2 separate regions of the Homo sapiens genome follow, and region 1 is linked to region 2. The links are contacts of gene promoters, found by promoter capture Hi-C in human tissues and cell types (Jung and others, 2019). All regions are on one chromosome and are shown on one strand. The core of a region is centred on a gene start or on the middle of the fragment in contact, and the rest is flanking DNA. Distances in the headings are between cores, read along the strand shown. Region 1 has its middle 6.5 kb from the start of KRTAP13-2. Region 2 holds the start of KRTAP13-4 (keratin associated protein 13-4).

Region 1 (6,957 bases), core at 2,758-5,257, 65 kb after region 2:
AACCACTGCTAAATGAAATAAAAGAGGATACAAACAAATGGAAGAACATTCCATGCTCATGGGTAGGAAGAATCAATATCGTGAAAATGGCCATACTGCCCAAGGTAATTTATAGATTCAATGCCATCCCAATCAAGCTACCAATGACTTTCTTCACAGAATTGGAAAACACTACTTTAAAGTTCATATGGAACCAAAAAAGAGCCTGCATTGCCAAGTCAATCCTAAGCCAAAAGAACAAAGCTGGAAGCATCATGCTACCTGACTTCAAACTATACCACAAGGCTACAGTAACCAAAACAGCATGGTACCAGTACCAAAACAGAGATATAGATCAGTGGAATGGAACAGAGCCCTCAGAAATAATGTCACATATCTACAACTATCTGATCTTTGACAAACCTGAGAAAAACAAGCAACGGGGAAAGGATTCCCTATTTAGTAAATGTTGCTGGGAAAACTGGCTAGCCATATGTAGAAAGCTGAAACTGGATCCCTTCCTTACACCTTACACAAAAATTAATTCAAGATGGATTAAAGACTTAAATGTTAGACCTAAAATCATAAAAACCCTAGAAGAAAACCTAGTCAATACCATTCAGGACATAGGCATGGGCAAGGACTTCATGTCTAAAACACCAAAAGCAATGGCAACAAAAGCCAAAATTGACAAATGGGATCTAATTAAACAAAAGAGCTTCTGCACAGCAAAAGAAACTACCATCAGAGTGAACAGGCAACCTACAGAATGGGAGAAAATTTTTGCAATCTACTCATCTGACAAAGGGCTAATATCCAGAATCTACAAAGAACTCCAACAAATTTATGAGAAAAAAAACAAACAACCCCATCAAAAAGTGGGCGAAGGATATGAACAGACACTTCTCAAAAGAAGACATTTATGCAGCCAACAGACACATGAAAAAATGCTCATCATCACTGGCCATCAGAGAAATGCAAATCAAAACCACAATGAGATACCATCTCACACCAGTTAGAATGGCAATCATTAAAAAGTCAGGAAACAACAGGTGCTGGAGAGGATGTGGAGAAATAGGAACACTTTTACACTGTTGGTGGGACAGTAAACTAGTTCAACCATTGTGGAAGACAGTGTGGTGATTCCTCAGGGATCTAGAACTAGAAATACCATTTGACCCAGCCATCCCATTACTGGGTATATACCCGCAGGATTATAAATCATGCTGCTATAAAGACACATGCACACATATATTTATTGCGGCACTATTCACAATAGCAAAGACTTGGAACCAACCCAAATGTCCAACAATGATAGACTGGATTAAGAAAATGTGGCACATATACACCATGGAATACTATGCAGCCATAAAAAATGATGAGTTCATGTCCTTTGTAGGGACATGGAGGAAGCTGGAAACCATCATTCTCAGCAAACTATCGCAAGGACAAAAAACCAAACACCACATATTCTCACTCATAGGTGGGAACTGAACAATGAGAACACTTGGACACAGGAAGGGGAACATCACACACCGGGGCCTGTTGTGGGGTGGGGGGAGGGGGAAGGGATAACATTAGGAGATATACCTAATATAAATGACAAGTTAATGGGTGCAGCACACCAACATGGCACATGTATACATATGTAACAAACCTGCACGTTGTGCACATGTACCCTAGAACTTAAAGTATAATTAAAAACAAACAAACAAACAAACAAACAAACAAAATGTATCGTTGGGCAGGGCATGGTGGCTCATGCCTGTAATCCCAGCACTTTGGGAGGCCAACGTGGGTGGATCACAAGGTCAGGAGTTTGAGACCAGCTTGGCCAACATAGCGAAACCCCGGCTCTACTAAAAATACAAAAAATTAGCCAGGCATGGTGGCTGGTGCCTGTAATCCCAGCTACTTGGGAGGCTGAGGCAGGAGAATCACTTGAACCTGGGAGGCGGAGGTTGTAGTGAGCCAAGATTGCACCATTGCACTCCAGCCTAGGTGACAGTGTGAGACTCTGACTCAAAAAAAAAAAAAAAAATATGTCATCAAGTGCAGAGCTACTCATTGACTTTGGTGTAAATAGGTAATTAAAAATTTTTATTAGACATAAAGGTCCTATGAGTCTGAATTATGCCATTAGCATTGAAGGTGGACTACTAATTCATCTTTAAATAATGCGGAATGAGTAAAATGTGGATTAAAAAAAATCATTTGAGAAAACAAACTAAAGGGGTCACAGTAGCATGGACAGTAAGAAAGTCCTGGGAGCTAGAGGCTCATAACTTCAAGTGTGGAAGGCACCAGGCCTTGCAAGGAGACATCTGAGCACAGAGAAATGTTTAAAATGCAGCAATCCCAAGATAGAAGGAAGGGGTGTCCAGTGACATAGAGAATCTAGTTCTGTAGTGACTTGAAGAATCTCCACCATTCTAATGCAATCTTTAAGTGGAATGCAAACAATTGAGACAGGGAGGCAGAGAGTAAAGGAGAAAATTAACACATTGGAATACTTTCAATATTTAAACCTTTCAAAGTATAATGTGAAGATTCAGATTTCAGGGATCAGACAAAATAAATATTCTTTGCCTCCTCCATTTTCTGCATGAATAATCTTCCCTTAATATCTCATCTCTGCTAATCTCCAACTATTTTTTATTTTCCTCTCTCACCTTTTCTCTTTGCTTTTCTTCTTTCTCTCCTTCTCTCTGTGATTTTTCAGTTTTTATGTACACTCTGCTCCTCTCCACACTCACCCTTTAGGGTGCTGTCAAGTTAGGCACCTGGTAACTGTGGGTCAACGCCTAAGTTGTATGAGGGTAACAGAGAGTGTAATGGAAGGCTGACTCCCATCACTGGCTAAGAAAAAGCAGAGTGGAAAAGATAAGTTGCTTTCAAGCTCACTTATAATTATTCCACTCCTAATGACCTTAATATACCAAGTGACATCAGCTCTTTGTTCTAATTCAGCTCACTAGATGTGTTTGAGCTTTAACTTTGCACTAGAGCTCTTCTGTGAAAAGTGCTGAGAGCTTAGAAAAGACCAATGTCACTAGACTCATGTCTCTCACTAGTGAGAGAGACAAATTTCCTCCTATGATTTTGGTGTGAAGGATGCGTGAGAAGAGAGCGCCAGCAAGAGGAAACTGCGTAAGCGGTGGCATAATTGCTTGGAAGAATACAGTGTGGGTTTCGGGGACAAAACTACAAGTTCCTTTTTTATTAAACTGGGAAATGTGGTCAGCAAGAGGTAGAAGACTACATAATAATAAGTAAGTGTGATTGTCCAATTCTACAAATCCAGAAATAGAGACGGAAACAACACGGATGCCATAGAGGGCCTCAGCTTTGTGTCTGGGGTGGCAAGATGTCAACGATAAACAATTAAAAAAATAAACTTCACATTTCATATGTGGGAGTGGTTTTGGGGGGCTCATGTTATTCTTAGATATCAAAGTTTATGTAACTGGAGACTTAGTTACAATTAGCAGTCTAATAAAGTATTAACAAGCAGAAGCTCAGGGTTGCAGACTATTACTTGAGAGGCACCACAGTATGAATTAAGAAAACATCAGGTATCTACTGTTCAAGTCCAGAATTCTCTATCCAGCTGTTCAAAAGAAATCATTCATGGTTAATCCAATCCTAATATCTCATCTCTGTTGATCTCCAACTATTTTTATTTTCTTTTTTTTTCTCACTATGTCTTGCATGCTGCTTCCCTGGAACTTAAAGAAAGGGAAGGCAAACGTTTAAAATGTGATACAATATAAAACATAATAGTATTAAGATAAATTTTTAAAAAGGTAAAGTCACAATTCTTACACAAATGAAAAAATCAACACATATAAAAATTTTTATTTAACTCATTAATAAATGTGGGGACCACTAAGATGCTACAACTGGTTCAAAGCATAATTCAGAGAACACTTAGACAGGTTGTTAGGAAGTTTGAAATGAATCCACAGATAGATGCAAAGTAGTGCTGTACGCAGAGTAAAAATCAGTATCATTCCACTTGACAGAAACTATTTCATTTCTATGGACTAGAATCATTTGCATTATTAACAATTTTATTCAACTTACAGAATTATATAGGAGTTAAAAAGCAATAATACGTGACAATACCTTGAAAAATGAACTAGACAGGCCACATAGTAATACATTTCCCCCATTTCAAAATCCCACAATTTTTTCTGACAACAGTATGTGAAATCAGTAATGTTAATTGTAAAACTTAGTAACAGATGTGCTACAAAAGTCTGAATATCATTTTTCCTTTAATATGGAAACTGAGGAGGAAAAGAAATTATGCATATCATTTCCTGGAAAGAATTACTTTACCTTATCAATTTATGCCTTTTTTCTTTTTCTCATCTTTACTGAGGTATAGTCTACAAAAATTATATAAATTTAAGGAGTAAAAATTGATGTTTTGAGATACACACACTGTATATAATATATACACATATTGTGAAATTGTCACAGTCAAGGTAATTAATATAGTTATAATTTCAGTTTCCATTTGATTGATCATTTGACTATGGCAAGAACACTGAGGTCTACCCTTTCTGCAAATTTTAAGTATACGATACAATATTGTTAACTACAGTCACATTGCTATACATTAGATATCCAGAACTTAATTGTCCTGCATAACTGAAACTTTTTACCCTTTGACCAACACCCTCCCAATTTACCCTCCGCCCAGGCCCTGACAGCTACCAGTCTAGTCTCTGCTTTTGTGAGTTTAACTAGTTTCGATTTCTACATACATGACATCATGTAGTATTTTCCTTTCTGTGTCTGGCTTATTTCTCTTAGCATGATGTCCTCCAGGTTCATCCAAAATTTTGACATTTCTAATGGCACTGCTTCTACTTGTGACTTGGGGAAAAAATGACATAATTACATAAATGTGTCGTATTTTGACTTGATCTTTCTTTCTGCTCTATACCACCACTTGCACCACTCACCTCAAATGCTGCATTACTGTCTAGTGTTGTTGTCTAGAAAACACAAGCTTCCATTTTTAATTTCATATATAACTAAATTAAACATTTTATAAATATAAAAGGACAAAATATGTGGCTCATATTTCTGCCTCATTACATGAACATTGTAATTCATACACATGGTGCATGCCTGTAGTCCCAGCTCCTTGGGAAGCTGAGGCGGGAGTATTGAAGCCAGGAGTTCCAGGCTGCAATGAGCTATTGATTGCACCATTGCAATCCAGCCTAGGCAGCAAAGCAAGACCCTGTCTCTAAAAAAAAAAGAAAAAATGTTAATCATAAATGGAAGAATTTTTCTTCTGGACTGTGGTAGTGGTTACACTAATCTATACATTAGATAAATTACATTGAACCATACAGATACAAACACAAATGAGTACATGTATAAACCAGCAAAACTCAATAAGGTCTGTAGTCTAGCGAACAACATGGCACCAGTGTCAATTTCCTAGGTTTGATTTTGTAGTATGGTTAAATAAGTTGGCAATATTGCAGGAGGCTGTGTGAAGGGACTCTAGGTACTATTTGTACAACTTCATGTGAGCCTATGATTTTTTTTTTAAGTTTAACAAAAGTTAGTCACGTGTGGAGAACATAAGTAGATTATTCATTAGTAAGATGTGTTATAAGGTTTTTAGTTGGCATTTCTGGAAGATTAGTATAAGAATACTAAAGTCTGTTAACTAAAGTGAGAAGATGCAGTTATTGATGTATGGAAACTCTTCTGTTCTAAAGTTCTATTTTATTTTATTTTTATAGATTTAAGGGTAAACATGCAGTTTTGTTACATGAATATATTACGTAGTGTGAACTCCAGGCTTTTAGTATATCCATCACTCAGATAGTTTATATTGTAGGTAATTTTTCATCCCTCACCCCTCTCCCAATCTCCCAACTTTTGGAGTCTCCAAAGTCAATTATTCCACTCTGTATATCCAGGTATACACATTGTTTAGCTCGCAATAATAAGTGAGAGCATGTGGTATTTGACTCTGTTTCTTAGTCATTTCACTTAGGATAATGGCTTCCATTTCCATCTATTTTGCTGCAAAAGACACAATTTTATTCTTTTTTATGGCTGAGTAGTATCACATTGCATTTATATATCACTTTTTAAAATTCAGTCATTCATTGATGGACACTTTGGCTGATTCCATGACTTTGCAATGGTGAATAGTGTTATGATAACCATACCAGTGCAGGGGATTTTAATATATATAACAATTTCTTTTTCTTTGTGTAGACACCCAATAATGGGATTGCTAGATCAAATGGTGTTCTATTCTCAGCTCTTTGAGGAATCTTCATACTGTTTTCCATAAAGTTTGTACTAATTTACATTCCTACCAACAGTGTTCCCTTTTCTCTGCATCCTTGCCAACATCTGTTGTTTTTTGACTTTTTAATAACCATTCTTATTACTGTAAGATGGTATCTTAATGTGGTTCTAATTTGCATTTCTCTAATGATTAATGATGTTGAGAATTTTTCCACGTTTGTTGGCTGCTTGTATGTCTTCTTTGGAAAAATGTCTGTTCATGTCCTTTGCCCACTTTTTGATAGTGGTTTTTTTTTTTTTCTTGTTGAGTTGTTTGAGCTTCTTGTAGATTCTAGATATTAGTCTTTTTGTGGACACATAGTTTTCAAATATTTTCTCCCATTCTGTAAGTTGTCTGTTTACTCTGTTGACAGTTTCTTTAGGAGTGCAGAAGCTTTTCAGTTTAATTAAGTCCCATTGGTCTATTTTTGTTTTTGTTGCATTTGCTTTTGCGGTCTTAGTCATAAATTCTTTGCCTAGGTCAATGTCTAGAAGAGATTTCCTACATTTTCTTCTGGGGTTTTTATAGTTTCAGATATTACATTTAAGTTTTTAATCCATTTTGAGTTAATTTTTGTATACAGTGAAAGATATGGATTCAATTTCATTCTTCTGCATATGACAATCCAGTTTCCCTAGCACCAT
Region 2 (7,552 bases), core at 2,897-5,396:
AAATTACACTTACATACAAGTGATAGGTCAGCCTACTCGTTCAAGTCTTGGGGGTGGGTCATTTGTTGTTCAGACCTAGCCGGTAGTGCGATGGCCCATTCCACAGCTGCAAGACGCGGCAATACTCTCAAGCCAACAGTAGGTGGAGTTAGTGGGAAATTTGAGAATTGCTGGCTAGGTGCACGTGAAGTATGGGCATGAAATTTTGACTGCCACAAAGCCACAGATAAAGGATAATCTAAATGCTCTTGCTACAGTGATTTGGCCATGTCTTGTATTTTTTAAATCTACAACTATTTTTTATTATTCGGTAACACTTTTCTTCTTTAAATTTTGTAGATAGAAGAAAAGGAAAATAAGCCAAAAATAAAAGCTCATTTTTTAATGAAAAAAACAAAAGTTGGGTTCTGAATTTCTACCACTAAATCCGGTTGATGGTGACTGCATGAACTTGTACAACAATTTGATGATATTTATTATTCAACATGAGAGTAGGTGATATCATTGACCACATGAAAAGTGAAAGACATAGTTTTACTGAAGATACATCAGTATCTACTTCAAAAGACAGAAAAATGTTTAAGAAGACCAAGTCCTAAGATGATTATTTACTATTAACAGTTGCAAAAAGTGTGTCAATACATCACCCTGATACAGACATTTTCATTTAGGTCAAATAACTGTTTTAAGTCATTTTCACTCGTGTTAAATTATACATATTCTTGTGCATGTACAGAAAATAATTGAACCAATAGTTAATGACATGCCCCTCCAGTAGCAGGAAAAACAAATCACTAGGGATTAAATGAATTCAGTTTTATATTAGAACTGTCAAATGCTTCAAACAGAAAATAAATTAATTCCAATAATGTTTTGATTTCTTCGCCTAGCCCCCCCAAAAGAGTAAAGCTATAAAAAGTTCATAATGTTCTGTTTGATAAAGCTAATGTAAAGTTATTTTAAAAGTTCAACATTGAAGATGAGATTATCTGTTGTATCCATAATGATAAAAAGTACAAATTTTGGTAAGGACATCATGGTAAAGAAAATAAGAGTCCTGTGGAGAAGACGCACATTTTTAATTGTGGTGAATACATAACTCACTTTGTATCCGAATAAGCTGCAATATTCTATCAATAAAAGTAGAAGATATAATTTGAAAAATTTTAAAACACTTTGTATATACTCTAAATTGTACTGGCAATCAATACTTTTCCTTACCTTGTTAATCACCATGTTCACGTTTTTCTACTGTATTATCTTTGAGCTCTTGTTTCATTTATTTTAAGCAATAATTTGTATTGTTTTATACAGAAAAGTAAATGAAAGGAATTTCCTTATGTTTATCAATATTTTTTACACATTGTATGCTGCTTCTGCATTCTATATTATTAGTTTACTCAAGAACATTGCCATGAATTCACTCTGATTGATTCCATCCCCCTTCAGTCCAATCTCACCAAAATGGGAATCTGATTTACGTTATTAGTGAGATGTTGCAAGAGTCTGCAATTTCACCATTCTTGTTCATAATGCTTGGTATTATTGAAGGCAGAACTTTATATCTATCATCTTGGATCCTAAATCTGAAAAAACTAAGTTACACTCATGATAATAATTAAAATGTTAAGATATGTCATAGAACTCAGAATTCATAACATTTTCTTCCTGAGATGCCATTGATTATTTTTCTATTACTCTACTATTTGTTATAACCGTTAAAATGTTATTTAAATAAATTAGTTTACCTTCTTTGGAGCTCTTCTCCTAAACTCTAAATTTATTTGTATTTTCATTCTTTATTACTGATACTACTCATGAGGCTACACAAATAAATCCAATAGTGGATCATCTCCATTTAGATGAATAGTAATTCTGCAGTATTTCTGTACTACTAGAAATACTAAGTGTTCCTTGGTTGAACTAGGAGTTGTATTTTTTAATAAAAAGAAAAGAAAAACCAGAAAAGAGTAACAAAACAAGATTCATTCAAGAGATCATATTCTACCAGGTCTTTGATCTGTAAGCCTTGGCCAGTTTTAAATCCTTTTAGAGTTTCCATTCCCCCATGCCTGTAAAGGTCTATAGTATACAGTATTTGTCTTTCTCACAGGGATGTTAAGTATTAAGGGAAAATCTGTTACCTGATAACTCTTTTGCCTTCTTGTGTGGTATACACTCACCTATGACCACAAGCATAGCAATGCAAACCATTTTATGTTGGCTTCAACCACCTTTGTGTGGACAACATCTGCCCTCAGTCATATGCAACGCCACTTTTACTGTACCTGGGTTTCTTCCAGGTCACAACTAGGAAAACAGAAGGTGCCCACTGTGATTCTTTCCTTGCATAATTATAAGGTTCCTGAAAATTACACATCTTGGATATTGTTCAGCCAATGGGAGAAAGAAGCGGATGGATAAATGTTTTTCCATGTTGATCTGATCCTGTGGGGGACAATTCCAAGAGTCATTCTACATGCTCCTAAAAGGTCCTTACAAGATTTAGCCAAGTTGCTCTCCATAAAATAAACTCGAAAATGCACCCTTTCTTTAGATTTTCCTCTTTGATTCTTTCATCTTCCATAGTGTCTCATACTTGCTTCCTGGGATCTTGTGCCACATAAACTGTTTGCACCCAAATCTTTGACATTAGCCTTGTTCTGGGGAGAAGAGGAGGATCCAGAGTAAGACTAATGGATATAAATGCTTGTTCAGCATGGCTCAGGTGTGTTGCTGTCAGCTTGATTAAGGTTGAGCCTTGAAGAAGCATCGGTAGGTTACCGAAGCCTCCTGGACCCAATAATTCCCACTTAAGATCATTGGTGAATGATCCTGACTCTCCTTACCAGTGGGAGGCAGGAAACCTGGCACTTAAGTCTACTAACAAAGAGCAAAGCGTCTGTCCTAGCAGTGCTTAAGCTTCACTTTTCTCTTGGTTGAAAATCCACATTCAGATACTAGACTTTAAGTAACCTTTAGTGCAAGCATACAGTTTACCTTATAAATTACATCCTAGTCTTGTTGTCTGCATTTCTAGTTTATGCATCAAATTTTCTGCTTTCCTATATCAGTAGAAATGCATGTCCTTCATTCTTAGACAATTCTCACTGCTGTTGAGACAAGTCTGCAGATGCAAACTATGTTCTTCCAGAAATGATTACTCTTAATAGACAACATACCTAATTTCAAGAGAAATGTTCTCAGATCTGTCAGATTATATGGGCCCCAAATCCAGTTACACAGTCATATTGATTTTTACTTAAATCTCCCAAATTCTTGAATGCAAAAATGTAAGCAAAATAATAATAATAAAATAATAACAATGTGAACAATATATTTGGGTACCAGATTACATACATTTATTAGATTAAAATTTCCATTTTCAACAGTTTTTGGATGAAAATCAGATAGCATATATTCGATCAATGGTAAAGATATTAGAAGTTAATATTAGGTTACTCATTAATTTCGCAGTCTGCCAGAAGTTGGTCATGCAAGAAGCTGGTGGTGGAAGAATAAAAAGATATTGGGATCTGGCAAGAATGAAAATAATGGCTGCATTCAGTAGAGACTTTGATCCCAATACTCAAAAGGATCTAGAAATTTAGCAGGTGAATTGATAGAAGCGAGATCCACAGATTGGTCTGTAACAAGAAGACTGCCAGGCTCCAGAAGCCAAGTAGTTTGGGTAGCAGAATCTGGATCCGTAACTCAGGGAAGGAAAACCACAGCCTCCATATTTCAGGAATCTGAAGCCACTGGATCCATTTCCCAGCGAGTAGCAGCACCTAGATCCATAGCCCTGGGAGCGACAGCTGCTGGACCGAAAGCCTAGAGATCCAGAGCAAGTCGTCTGACAGGGACAGCAGAGGATGGAGGTCCTGGGGCGGTAGCAGGATTTCTGGCAGCTGGCGGGCTCCCAGCAGGTCTTCTGACAGTCCCTGTAGAGAGAGGAACGCAGCTGGCAGGTGCTGGGAGAGCAGAGGGCAGTGCTGTAGACCAGGCTGCTGGGGTAGGAGCCTGGGTAGTACAGGTAGCCCCCAAAGGAGCGGGAGGAGAAGTTTCTAGAGCAGCAGTTGTAGGACATGCTGATGAGAGATGGGAGTTCAGCTGAGTGTACCTAAGAAGATTCTGAGTTTTAATGTCGCATCCTGGACAAGGGCATTTATATCCTCTCAGCAATAGGTGTGGTGCCCAACAGGGTCATCCTTTACATATTTGTGATCCCTCATTTACATATGTGTAACTGCGTAATCTTGTCTGTAATTGCATTTGAATAGTTTTCCATGTATTGTATTTATGGGTGCTATAATTTTCGTGTTATAGCACAAAGCCAATGAACTGTACTTATGTCAGAAATGCTATGACTGTTTTATATTAATGTCTAGCTCATCATGACAAGGAAAGCTCTTCCTATTTCTTTGGCACATGCTAACTGCCTCTTTTCCTGTGTATTCACATCTGGCTTTGCTAGTAGATGTTTTCCTCTTAAGAGTGGGGAATGAGATAACGTTAGTTTCTTTCTGGTGCAATTTCCACCTGGATGAGAACCTTTGTGAAAATGATCCATCTTGTCACCATTGATTGCTATACTCCAAAATTACTTTGTGGTGATTTTTTAGGGCGGTAAGAGTAAATTAATACATTAAGTACTACAGTTATAAAGTCTGTCTCATATCCAGTGAAGAAAGATCAAGAACAGGCAAAGCAAAGAGATAGAAAGAAATGGCTAGAAATTGAAAGAAACCTTGCCATTTATTTAAAGACGAGATAACAAAAAGAAGCTCGATTGAAACACAGTCACAGAGAAGATCAATTTGAGGTCATGTCTCTTCAGCCAAAGAGCCCGAATGCTTGTCTGCTGAAGGGAGGAAACAAGTGAAAGAGAAACAAAGAGAAAGCTCAGGAATTTCAGAATTTTTTTTCCTATTGCATTCCAGCTGTCATGTGTCTTGTCTCAATGTCTTTATGAGCAAAAATTTTCAAAATTAGCAAATCTTATGAACTTTGATATATTTATCATCTACTTTTGTAATTATACAGGACTTCTACCTTCTTAGAATGGCTCTAGCTTTCCATATTACTGGCTTTCAGTGTCTTTTTGCCACTTGTAGAACCAGGTACCATCCTACATTTTCCTGTGAAAATGTGAAGTTTCTTTGTTCCCCAGTCCTCTTTTCCTCTGCATGGTATATGAATGTTTCTCTCTTATTTTCTCTCTCTCTTCCTCTGACTTTCTTTCCCTCTATTTTTCTTTCTTTTTTCTGTGCTTAAGTTTGATTTTATCTTTTTTCTTTTTTTTACTTGTTATATTTTATGTTTTGTTCATGTGTTTGTTTGCCTCTGCTGAATTATAGATTCCATGTTGAAAAATAAAAATTGGACAGCTTTGTCGTATTCTTTGAGGATAGCCACTTTGTAAGTTCATTCACAAAATATTCTATGTTGAAATACAAGTAGTTAAATTATATTCAGGACCAAAGAAAGTGTACTGTCATGGTTGATGACATTTTATTTTATAATAAAATATAATAAACTTACAACAATAATGTTAGACATTTTCTCGATTAAATTTTCTCAATTAAAATGTATGGCAATATTGAAAAGTAACTTAATATAGGCCTTCCAGAAGGAAGAATGAAGAAAGAAGCAAATATGGCCAATTCAAATATCTATTCAGTGAGTTACTTTCTATTTTTCAATGGCAGTTGATTTCCCCTAACCTTGTACCTTAGTAAGTAGGTTTGGAAACTATTCCTTCCCCATTTTCTTTTGTTTCAAATGTAACTCTTTAAAATAATCTTGAATACAAAACTTATGAGTTAAATGGAGAGCATGAATTTATTCAGGCAAAACTAAGGGATTTAGTGAATTTGTCTTCAGTTAATCCAGGCTCCTTATTCAAAAATCCTTCTCTGAACCAGTTATTGTGAAAAGAGGTGTTCTTCCCTTCTCTCTGCCTCTAAATCTCTAAAACTTTGTCCACATTAATTTGATAGAAGTTTAAGAAGAACTTGTAAATGCCACAACTTTGGACTCACTTCATCTTGGAGATCATATTATTTGTTCTGTTTAATATGGAGCCTCATCATTGTTGTTTCTTTTTTTGACTGAATTATTTATCAACAATTAAAAATTGAGATCTTTCACATAAAATATATGGCTCAGGGATATACATCAAAAGGCTTCTGATCTTTTGACAGATGATTCTCTTCACTGGGCTATGAATAATGGCTTTGGATATTTGAGATATGTTTTCAACAGAATCTCATCCATAGTTGAAAATTACAACGTTTGGCACCTACCTGCTTCTCTTTTCAAAATAACCAGGCAACTTGTCACTAACATGCTGGAAAATCTTGCTTTCACTAACCATCCAGGTTACAACCTCAATAAGCAAAAGCCAATACTTCTATATAAAGATTGAAAATAGAAAAAAGAGTATAAGCCATATGTAATGTAGTTAAAAAGTGTACCTTGCTTATAATTGGAATCTAAGCAAAAGAAAGATGAGAGGATGGGGCAGAAGCAATATTTGAAGAGAGTACAGTTGGGAATTTACCAATCTTGATAAAAGACATCAACTCACACGTGAAATAATAGGAGAATGGTGTAGATCTAGTCTAACTAAGGTGGAGATGGCTGAAAAAATGAGTTTTAGCAGATATTACCTGGAGACAGTCTGAACATAAGCTCCAAAACTAAACTCAAAAGTTTGTTTATTGTTTCTCTAAATCATTGAACAACTGAAATAATTTTTTTTTTGTTTACCCTGATTGGCATACTCAAGATAAAATGTTCAGTTTAAATTTTTTGCTATCCTTCAAAAAATTGGTTTACTTTTTGTATTAGTCTATTCTCACACTGCTATAAACTACTACCTGTGACTGGGTAATTTATAAAGAGAAGAGGTTTAATTGACTCACAGTTCTGCAGGCTGTACACGAAGCACGGCTGGGGAGGCTTCAGGGAACTTACAATCATGGCAGAAAATGAAGGAGAAGCAGGCAGTCCTACAAGGGAAGCAGTAGAAAGAGTGAAGGGGGAAGTGCTACACATTTTTAAACAACCAGATCTCATGAGAGCTAACTCACTAGCACGAGAACAGCAAGGGGGAAATCCACCCCCATGATCCAATCATCTCCCACCAGGCCTTCCCCAACACTGGGGATTACAATTTGGCCTGAGATTTGGGCAGGGACACAAATCCAAACAGTATCACTTTTTAAAAAGTATAAACAAGATTAAATATTTACAGATTTTCTGCATTTTTTCTCTTTCCAGAGTCTCCCCTGAGAGAGGCTGGGAGAGTTGTAAGATTTGGACATAGGTCTGGCCCAAGTGAAGGAGAAAGAGAAAGAAGTGCTTGAGACCTATGCAGGAGACAGTAGTTCTTTAAGGCCGTTGAGGAAACCCTGAGTCAAAGCTGGCCGTCAATTGTCTTCCAGGAATTCCTATATCCCACTGTGCTCAGTCTTTGCTTGGGAGCAGCCCAGAGAAAGCAAGCCTTCCCCAAAAATGCAGTGTTAACTTTTAGAACACAGCAGGT

What was found. The method cuts DNA at HindIII sites, captures the fragments that hold promoters and counts their contacts. A contact is called where the count stands out against the background at its distance.
Region 1: a contact is called between a fragment that was not itself captured here and the fragment with the promoter of KRTAP13-4 in region 2, in 2 of the 25 tissues and cell types used here (dorsolateral prefrontal cortex and mesendoderm cells).

What each region holds. Positions count from the first base shown.
Region 1 is chr21:30,362,339-30,369,295 of GRCh38, reverse strand. No RefSeq gene overlaps it. Among named protein-coding and RNA genes, the nearest start is that of KRTAP13-2, 6.5 kb to the left of the region's middle. The HindIII fragment of the contact is 3,695 bases long and covers 2,160-5,854 here.
Region 2 is chr21:30,426,814-30,434,365 of GRCh38, reverse strand. It overlaps KRTAP13-4 (keratin associated protein 13-4), which reads right to left and starts at 4,146. Exons shown (of 1, transcript NM_181600.3): 1 at 3,340-4,146. The coding sequence starts at 4,090. The coding sequence ends at 3,608. The region is part of intron 3 of LOC105372772 (a long non-coding RNA gene); the gene reads left to right. The HindIII fragment of the contact is 9,351 bases long and covers 1-7,444 here.